Linked DNA regions of Homo sapiens: region 2 is linked to region 1. Evidence: promoter capture Hi-C in human tissues and cell types (Jung and others, 2019). All regions are on one chromosome and are shown on one strand. Each heading gives the region's core, a stretch centred on a gene start or on the middle of the fragment in contact. The rest is flanking DNA. Distances are from core to core; before and after follow the strand shown. Region 1 holds the start of RNF220 (ring finger protein 220). Region 2 overlaps RNF220 (ring finger protein 220).

Region 1 (4,906 bases), core at 1,449-3,948:
CTCCACTCACTCTGCCCCAGTACCTTGGTTCAGGCCCTACTTCATCTCAACTGAATTACTTGAGATAGACTTTTTGATTGGCCTCCCTGCCTCTTGTCTAACCTCCACCTTGTCCACCCAGGAACTAGTGCTTGTTTTAAAACAGAAATCCTACCCTGTCACACCCCTAAAACCCTCTAGGGGTTTCTCATCATCTGTAGGATAACATCCACTTTCCTTAGCTTAGTATACAAAGCCTTTTGTGATTTGGCCCACTTCTCCTGCCTATCTCTTGCTGCTCAATGTTTCATATTTCAATTTTGAGGGAAATCAGTGGCTTATAATTCCTTTAACACACCAGGCAAGAGAGTTCTCGATAAATGCTTGTTAAATGAATGAATGAAATACCTTATGTAGCTAGGGTGACCATTCAATCTGCTTGGCCCAGGATGGCCCTTGTTGACATTTGTCATCCCAGTGTAATTATTAAAAGTGTCCCTTTTTTATCATCAAACTTGTCTCAGTTAGATCAATAAATTCTAAGGTCATCCTTATTACAGTGGTTATCAAATTGATTTCTAACTCTTTCTTTGTCTCCTCTACTAGATGGTGAGCTCTTTGAGGACAGGAGTTCATTTTTATATCCTCGTTTATTCATTCAACTAAGAGACTGATGCTGTAAGGTGCTTAGGGTATGATGTAGAATGCAACAAACATGGTTCTTGACTTCATGAAGTTTACAATCCAGCAGGAAATAATAATTTAGTGGAAAGAATAGAGCCTAACATAATAAATGCTGGTGTATGAATGAATGATTAAACATGGATTAGAAGTTCCTCAACAGGCCAGGCGTGGTGGCTCACCCCTGTAATCCCAGCACTTTGGGAGACCGAGACAAGCGGATCACTTGGGGTCAGGAGTTTGAGACCAGCCTGGCCAACATGGTGAAACCGTATTTCTACTAAAAATTATTTGGGCATGGAGGGGCATGCCTGTAATCCCAGCTACTTGGGAGGCTGAGGTAGGAGAATCGCTTGAACTCGGGGCGGAGGTTGCAGTAAGCCAAGATCACACCACTGCACTCCAGCCTGGGCGAGAGAGTGAGATTCCATGTCAAAAAAAATAAATAAATAAAAATAAAGTTCCTCAACAAATAATCCTGATATCACGAATTATAGAAATAGTTGTAAATGTAGAACTCTAAGTGATCAAATTAACAATTTATTTAGAGTTGCCAATTAAAATTTTAAAATACCAACAGCACACATATACATAAACATACTTAATATTTAGATGCTACCTTAATGTTAAACATAAGTAAAAAGGACAATGAAATAATAGCAAGAATGAGATTTTGAGTCTCATTCTTTTTAGACAATTTATAATCCTATGTGGTTCTCTGTAAAGTGGATTATCAGTGTGTACTCCATTTCTCCCCACCCTCCCTTTTTTTTTTCCAGATGAGAAATCTGAGGTTTTAGACACTTAACTACAAAACAAAAGAATGACTTTTTTTTTTTTTTTTTTTTTTGTCACCCAGGCTGGAGTGCAATGGTGTGATCTCGGCTCACTGCAACTTCCGCCTCCCGGGTTCAAGCGATTCTCCTGCCTTGGCCTCCTGAGTAGCTGGGATTACAGGCGCATGCCACCACGCCCGGCTACTTTTTGTATTTTTAGTAGAGACAGGGTTTCACCATGTTTGTCAGGCTGGTCTTGAACTCCTGACCTCTTGTTCCGCCCGCCTCGGCCTCCCAAAGTGTTGGCATTGCAGGCGTGAGCCACCGCGCCCGGCCAGGAATGACTTCTTAAACCAGGATTTGATTTTGGTTGAACTTTGCTTTCAGAACTAGAACTACCTGCTATCCAAGACTTGTTAACCACGTTTTCATGGGCAAATTACAAAACCCTTTCAACCCCAGTTTCCTCTTCTATAAACTAGTGGTAATATTATTATCTCCAGAATTAATCTTAGGAGTAAATGAAATTATGTAAAGGCATTTAGTCTCATAACCGGGCTCCTAGAAAGCACTCAGGAATGTTAGTTCTCTATCCATTTCCCCTGTTTATCTTTGTGTTTGATGAATTATAGGATGATATGAAATGATCTGAAATGAACTGTAATATAAACATCAATAAAACACCAATAAAAAATTTTATTCTCACATCTGGATGCTATACTAGGCCTTCACCTCCTCCAAAAGTTACAGTTTTATTAATATTCATTTATTATTTATTATTATAGTCAAAGACCCAGAGAAGCATTCCAGGAACAAAGCAGCAGGTAAGATTTTTCTGGGAAAAGACAGAGATTTTGAGGGACCCAGGATTTGGGGGTCATTTAAGCAGCAGTGGATGTCAGTCTTCAAGCTTTGCCCATTTACTCTTGGTCCCTTTTGGTTCAGGAAAGGAAGAACAACAAGCACGAAACCATTCACTGAGACCTTTGCGGGTGGGGGAGGAGGGATGTAAACAAAAGCCAACGCTCTCTTTAGTTCACAATGGCTCGCGACCCCAAGACTTCCAAGCTCTTTGGTGAGGGCCAGCAGGTCTGTTCTCCAGGAGTGCCCTGGGTCTGGACTTCATTTCCCAGAGTCCCTTAGTGCCCTAATGTATTCAGTGCTCAGAGTGCCTGTATGTGTGTGAGTGTGAGAGAATGTGTGCGTGCGTGTGTGTGTGCGCGCGTGTGTGTGTCTCCGAGTCCCTGGGAGAGTGGAGGCTCATTCACTGATTAGATCCAGCGCTGAGAGGCAGCACTGCTCCTTCTCTCACGCCAACTGAGTCTCTTGATCTGTACATGCAATCCCAGGCAGCTCGCGAACACAAACCCGGGGCCAGCCGCCTACTGCTGCTGCTGCTGCTGCCGCTGCCGCCGCCGCCGCCGCCGCTGCCTCCGCCGGCTCTGCGAACCCGGGACTTTTCATGCACCACACTCTCCGCCTGCTTCCCTCCGTGTCCTGAAAAGTGCGACCGTTCTCCCAAGGAATTTCCACGGCAAGTATGGAGATCAGAAAGGGGTGTGGACGTGTGTGCGTACCCAAGAGGGGTGGGTGCGAGGGCGGCCGGCTTGTTCAGGAACCTGGCTAACTTTCCGGGTCCGTTTCCTAGGGATTCGGGCGGTTCCCTCTGGACGGGGGCAGGGACTGGGACTCGGACTGGCGCGTCTTGGATCATCGCGACGGAGCCTCTCGGCATCGGCGCCCTGCGCGCTCCGTGCGCTGCCTCGCTCAAACTTTCCGTCTTGAGTTTTCCTTAATGTGTTTTATTTGGGGAGGGGGGGAGGTGCAAGGGGGAGGGACCAGACGCGGGAATTGGACAAGTTGGGAGGGTGAGGGCACTGCAAGGGAAGGGAGCAGGACTTCTTTTCTCCGTCTCTTAATAAGCCCCATTCCCACTTTGTTCGGGTCGATATCGAGAATGCCTTCTCGCCGGGCTCTCTGGTGCACCCCCCGGTGATTTCCGGGCTCCCCTATGTACCCCGCGTTGATTTCCGGCGAGGCCAGGGCTGGGTGGTACTCAGTGGGGAGCCCGAGGCGGCGGGCGGATGGAGAAGGGGCGAGCCGAATGAGAAACTACCCCGACAGCCTCCACCCCACACACAGCCGGCTCCGCGGGATACCCGGGGAGTGGCTGTTTAGCCCTGGACCCCGGGTGCTCGGCTGACTTTTTCCTAGCGGGGGCGGGTGTGAAGGGTGTGGAGGGAGGGAGGTGGGGTAGGATGGATGGATCCTCTGCGGGCAGGAAGGAGGCAGGTGCTAGCATAGAGGCGGACCGTTCTAAACGCCACCGGTAAACTCCCCACTCCTCTGGGCTGGACCGGCCTGGCCGTAGAGTAGCCCGACACGTGGGATCTCCCGGGATTTTCGGGGTCGGGACCCCCTCTCCCAGCGGTTCTACTGAGCAAGGCGGGAGGACGATCGTGGAGACGAGGGCTACTTGACTACTCTACTTGTAGTTTTATTTTTATCTTAGACCTGCCTTAAACTGAGTAACAATTTCTCTTCTGACTTAAGAACAAAACTTTTCAGTGAGCACGCCGGTCGCTGCGGTCCTGCGGCCACTGCCGCCGCGCTTGTCAGCCCGGGCCGAGCGACCTTCTCTGCCCGGAACCCAGCCCCGCCACCGCACTCCGGAGCCTCCGGCCTCCCCCACCCCACCCCCGCCCCCCAACCCGGGGCTTTTCAGGGCTCGGCCTGGGCGTTTCGCCTTTGTGCTTTGTAAGAGAAAGCCTTTTCTTCCAGGGCACAACAAACTTGGGCGGAGAGCTTCCGTGTGGCCCCCCGGGCGAGGCCGCCCACGGTGGTGAGGCCATCCGAGGGGATGCCCGGTTCATCCCCCAGTCCAGGAGCCTCTCCGAGAGCTCGCGGCCCAGGTCGACCCCAGCTGGCGAGGGCGCGCAGGAGTCCCGAAGTAGCGGGGACTAGGGCAGCCAGGAGGCAGGGGGAAAGCTCTCGCTTCCCGTTAAGCACACCCTGCATTCTCGGGTCGTGGATGCAGCTCCAGCGGAGAGCCCGTGTTCCGGCCCTGAGCCAGGCGCGCGTCGCACTGGGTGGGTGCATGGGGCCCGGGCCATAGGTGTGGGGGCACAGCCCTACCTGGCCGGCCCGGGTCGTCTGGGGTCTGCGCCGGCCCACTGGCCCGGGAGCCGCCGAGGGGGAGAGCACCGCACTCGCTGCCCACGACGCCCAGCAGCCACATCTTGCCTCTCGCCTCCGCTCCGGACTCGGCTTGAGGGGCAAAGGGGAGAGAAAGGAAAAATAAAGAAAAAAAAGGGCGGCAGTGAGGAAGCAGCGAGGGGACTGGGGGGAGCAGAGTGGGCAGGGGGGCTTTGCCTTGCCTGGCCTCCTCTTTCCGTCTCGCGGGCTCTTCCTGCAAAGGGGAATGAGCAGAGGGGGGAAAGGCAGAAAGAGCGTCGAGGAAGAGCGGTGCT
Region 2 (5,010 bases), core at 476-2,975, 55 kb after region 1:
TGTCCATTAACTGGAACATATTACAGCTGGAATGGAAAGTTTTAGTTAACCCAGTAAGTCAGTAGGGAAGAGGCTGGTTAAGAGAGCATCCACTCTTGGACGACAGCCTCTACCTTGCAGCTTCCTCTCTCCCTTGCTCCTGTTATAACTGTGCTTTCATCTCATTGACTGCCTAGATCCAAGCCAGACCTTTAATGTCCCAAAGCACCAAAAAAGAGAATGTTCCCTTATGTAATTTAAAATGAAAACAATTCTAACTTGTAAAATAAGTGTAAGGAAGTTCAATAAATTTCTGACTTTTACCATGGTGATTCTTTTGGTGGGTTTTTTTTTAATTTCAAGGTTTTTCTAAAAATATGTTGTGGGGGTTCACTTTGCTTTTTGGATGCCCTAAGAATGTGTTTATCTATTGAGTAATCCAGCACTGCCTTTGACGCTTCCATTTCTTCCCAACCTCTCAGCCTTCTCCCAGAATTACTTCCTTTCCTACTGAGCCTACATCTCATGATCCACCACTTTTAAATGCTGTCTTGCCAATGTCTTCTACCCAATTTCCTTACACACTTGTCCTCACACAGAACCCCCCCTAATAAACCCCCCAAAACTGGTATACTGCATTTGAGATAACTTTGTAGCTTCCAGGTAAAAATGTCCAAAAAGTAGTCAGACACAAAATCTGAAACCCAGGAGACGAAGTAAGGGTAGATAAAGGAATTTGGGGATCTTCGAACAAAAAAGTGAGATTTGATCCTGTGCAGGTGGACCACATGGCCAAAGAAAGGCATGTAGAGTGGGAAGAGCAAGAGCTGGACTGAGAACTCTGGGAACACCACTGTGTAAGGGGTAGGTGGAGCGGAACTGCCGATGAAAGAGGGAATATCCACATGCAAGGAAGCCTGAATCCAAGGAAGGAGAGCTTCAGGAAGGAGTGATTATGGATGTCAAGTGTATTAAAGAGGTGAGGTCAGATTAGACAATACCTAGAACCTAGTAGGTTCTCAATGCATACTTGCTAACTGATGGATTCACCAAGACCGAAACAGTCAGGAAGTCACTGATGATCTTGGTGCTTAGTTTGAGTTTTCCTAAAAGTGGACCCTGAGACGAGGATTAGTCTATTTGAAAGATGAAGAACACTGGTGTGTGTGGGAGAGGGGGATGAACAGGGAGGGGACGGCCAGTAAAGGGTGAATTAAGCCAGCAGCCACCCTGGGCAATTATAGCTTAATCCCAACGGGAAAGTTCAGGGAGTCAGTGCAGAACACCCACCTCATCGTTCCTCGTCTCACGGGGTGAGGGAGCTCTTTCAGGTCATTGGTTGAGGGCTGTTCTTAGAGGGCATTAATTCACTGACATTTCCAGCCTGCTGCTTGGGCAGCAGAACAGACCCCGGCTGTGAGAGAAATCCCTCAGGTGAATGAATGCAGGTACCAGCGCCTGGAAGCCTGGGGTTCACTGAAGTAGTAAGGGCAGGGGATACTGGTAGGGCAGTGACATCCTCTAACACCTGGTACCTGCAGTTTCACTGGCAGAAGCTAGACTGCTGTGGAGCAGTAGGAAATTGGAAGTGAGAAGTGGAGGAAATGGGTGTAGGTAACTATTTCAAGATGTTTGGCTGAAAAAATAAGATAAAAAATATGTCAGTAGGCTGATTCTGCGAAGGGTAGGAAAAAACAGGGTAAAATGGGAGATCGGAGAGTTCTTCGATCATTGAGGGTTCATTGAGGGTTCTCACAAAACTTCCCTGTTTTTAGTTAGGGGAGAGGAGGTCAGCTGCACTAACCACTTCTTACTTCAGGATCCTCTTTTAGCTTCCCCAGACAAGCGCCCAGTGTTTCCTCTGCTAGACTTTGGGTCCTGGGTTCCCCAGCTAAAGAGGCCGTGCTGGTACAGCCTCACATGCTAGCAATTCTAAGCCTGAAGTGCCAGAGGAATAGATTGAATATAGCTGCAGAGCAGACTGGGACACGTGTGGAACACGGTGGCCAGATTCTGAACCCTAGGAGAACCACAAGGTCAGAGGAGACCTTCTGAGGGGTCTGCCGCTGCTGAGGGACTCCTTGCATTCCTGGCCTTCCCCCTTCCCTGTCAGCACATCTCAATAATTAGTTTGGTTTGGGTGTAACAGACCTGCCCCATAGAAGGAACCTTCCTGGGACATTCATCTAAATAACTCTTTGATTGATGTCTCTCTCTTAGCTAAAGCTTAAGCTCCCGGGGGCAGGGACGGTATTCATTTCAGCACTATTGTATCCCTAGAGTCTGGTGCCTAGTCAGTACTCAATAAATATTGCATATTTAATGCAAAAATACCCAGCAACAGGTAATGCTGTCTATTGATGGTGCCTACACCAAGAAAAAGGTAAAACCAGGATTTTTATCCTTCTAGAAGTGGATTTTCTATGCAGTTAATGAATTTAAACTTACAGGTCCCTTACTTGCATGAACTCCTTTAAAGACCCTGGAAGAGGCCTTAGTGATATTTTTACATGGTTACATTTTTTCATGTTGCAAAAATAAAATACTTTAATCAAAATTAAGACTCTTGTTTTCCGTCTGAGTTCATATTTCCCCTCCTGGAGCGGCGTTGGAGTGGCTGTGGATGTTTTGGTGATCTGTTTCAGGAAAAGCAGAGTTGGGAGTATATTTTATATTTAGTTTATTTGAGTATATTTTGTATTTAGTTGATGCATCTGTTTATGTGGTTTGCGGTCTCTTCTGTGTAGAGTTAACTTACTCCTGCCTGTCCTGGTATATAAATGGCTCTCAGGAGTACTGCTACTGCCTACTATGCTAATTAACTGGGTCAGGCCATGAAGGTGCATGATGAGAGCTTGTCAGGGGACATGAATGTGTCCTATGATGCTCTGCAATGGAAGAGAAACAAAGCTTAAAATGTATGGATCCAGAAACTAGTCCTCACATATGTAAAATTGTAAGTGAAAATTTTAGTTCTTGTTAATGGCTGGTCAAAATGAAACCTCGCATCTGTCAGGAATACATCTTAATGCAGTGTATACAATTGTAAATGTATCATATTTTTTTCTTTTCTTTTTTCTTTGTTTTTTTTTTTTTTTTTTTTTGAGCCAGAGTCTTGCTCTGTTGCCCAGGCTGGAGTGCAGTGGTGCCATCTTGGCTCACTGTGACCTCCATCTCCCAGATTCAAGCGATTCTCCTGCTTCAGCCTCCCAAGTAGCTGGGATTACAGGGGCACACCACTATGCCCGGCTAATTTTTTTTTCTTGTATTTTTAGTAGAGATGTGGTATCACCATGTTGGCCAGGCTCATCTCAAACTCCTGCTCAAGTGATCCGCCCGCCTCGGCCTCCCAAAGTGCTGGGATTACAGGTGTGAGCCACCACGCCTGGACATATATATATTTTTTAATGGGAATCACATGAAATGGAATTTATTAAAATTCCTGTGTTTATAGTGTATAAGTCTGTAGCAATACTACTAACAATGAGTGCATTCTTATGTGAAGTATATACACATCTCCAAAATATTGACCAAAGGTAACATAAAACTCATAATATGTCGCTATAACCAGGACACCAATAATAAGCTGTAAAAGAGTATCAATAAAGTCTGAGAATATTAAGGAAAATTTGAAAGGCCATGAAATCTTACAACTCCTATATGAAAGAAACTTGATAGAGGTTTCCCCAAATTTCACATTAATCCTTGACATTTATATAACAGTACTAGTAAGGGGTTTTGAAGTGGAAAGAAATTCTCTAAGCTATCAGTTATAAACAAATTTTGGTCAACAATGGTAGAAAAAAGACAGGATTTTCTATTTTCTTTATAGAAAAATGAAGTATAGATGCTTCAAAATTGTTCACATGAAGAGTCAGAGTCCACAGCTTAGAAAATACAAGAAAGGCCGGGCACGGTGGCTCACGCCTGTAATCCCAGCACTTTGAGAGGCCGAGGTGGGCAGATCACAAGGTCAGGAGATCGAGACCATCCTGGCTAACATGGTGAGACCCTGTCTCTACTAAAAATACAAAAATTAGCCAGGTGAGGTGGCAGGCGCCTGTAGTCCCAGCTACTCAGGAGGCTGAGGCAGGAGAATGGCATGAACCCAGGAGGCGGAGCTTGCAATGAGCTGAGATTGTGCCACTACACTCCACCCTGGGCCACAGAGCAAGACTCCATCTCAAAAAACAAAAAAAGAAAATACAAGAAAGGCCGGGCGCAGTGGCTCACGCCTGTAATCCCAGCACTTTGGGAGACTGAGGCGGGCAGATCACCTGAGGTCGGGAGTTTGAGACCAGCCTGACCAACATGGAGAAACCCCGTCTCTACTAAAAATACAAAATTAGCCAGGTGTGGTGGCACATGCCTGTAATCCCAGCTCTTGGGAGGCTGAGGCAGAAGAATCGTTTCAACCCGGGAGGCAGAAGCTGCAGTTAGCTGAGATCGCACCATTGCTCTCCAGCCTGGGCAACAAGAGCAAAACTCTGTCTCAAAAAAAAAAAAAAGAAAGAAAGAAAATACAGGAAATAAGCACTTAGAAGTGTATCAATTAATTTAAAATTATGTCATTGGAATATTTTTATGATGTTTCTCATTTTCCTCAACCTTTAAAATTTTGTAATTGTTGTGAAATGATTTGTCGTTCTAATAAATACTCACTTTTGAACCTAATTTTATATTTGTAATTTTGTTTCTTTTTTTTTTTAAGAGAGTCCTCAAAGTCATATGCTAAGCTTCGGATGCCACAGAATGTGAATCTGCCCCATATCCTCCTTATCTGCCTGGCTTTAGGTGGTTTGGGCTGTAAAGCAATATCATCTCGAGTCCAAACTATAGACAATTGGTGTATAATTGGCTTCCATGTAGACATTTTAGATGTCTCCTGACCTCTTTCTTTGTTTTTAGACTAACTTGAGTTTCCAGAATTAACCAGGAGCTGAGAGCCACTCCCTTCTAATTCACTCATGGAGTTTGAGCTTTAATCTTCCTGAGCCTCCTCATTCTAGACTCACCCTGAGCCCAGGCTCC

What was found. The method cuts DNA at HindIII sites, captures the fragments that hold promoters and counts their contacts. A contact is called where the count stands out against the background at its distance.
Region 2: a contact is called between a fragment that was not itself captured here and the fragment with the promoter of RNF220 in region 1, in 3 of the 25 tissues and cell types used here (adrenal gland, hippocampus and neural progenitor cells).

What each region holds. Positions count from the first base shown.
Region 1 is chr1:44,402,557-44,407,462 of GRCh38, forward strand. It overlaps RNF220 (ring finger protein 220), which reads left to right and starts at 2,699. Exons shown (of 15, transcript NM_018150.4): 1 at 2,699-2,974. RefSeq lists an enhancer at 3,592-4,114. The HindIII fragment of the contact is 10,637 bases long and covers 857-4,906 here.
Region 2 is chr1:44,458,863-44,463,872 of GRCh38, forward strand. The region is part of intron 2 of RNF220 (ring finger protein 220); the gene reads left to right. Among named protein-coding and RNA genes, the nearest start is that of RNF220, 56 kb to the left of the region's middle. The HindIII fragment of the contact is 4,153 bases long and covers 1-3,802 here.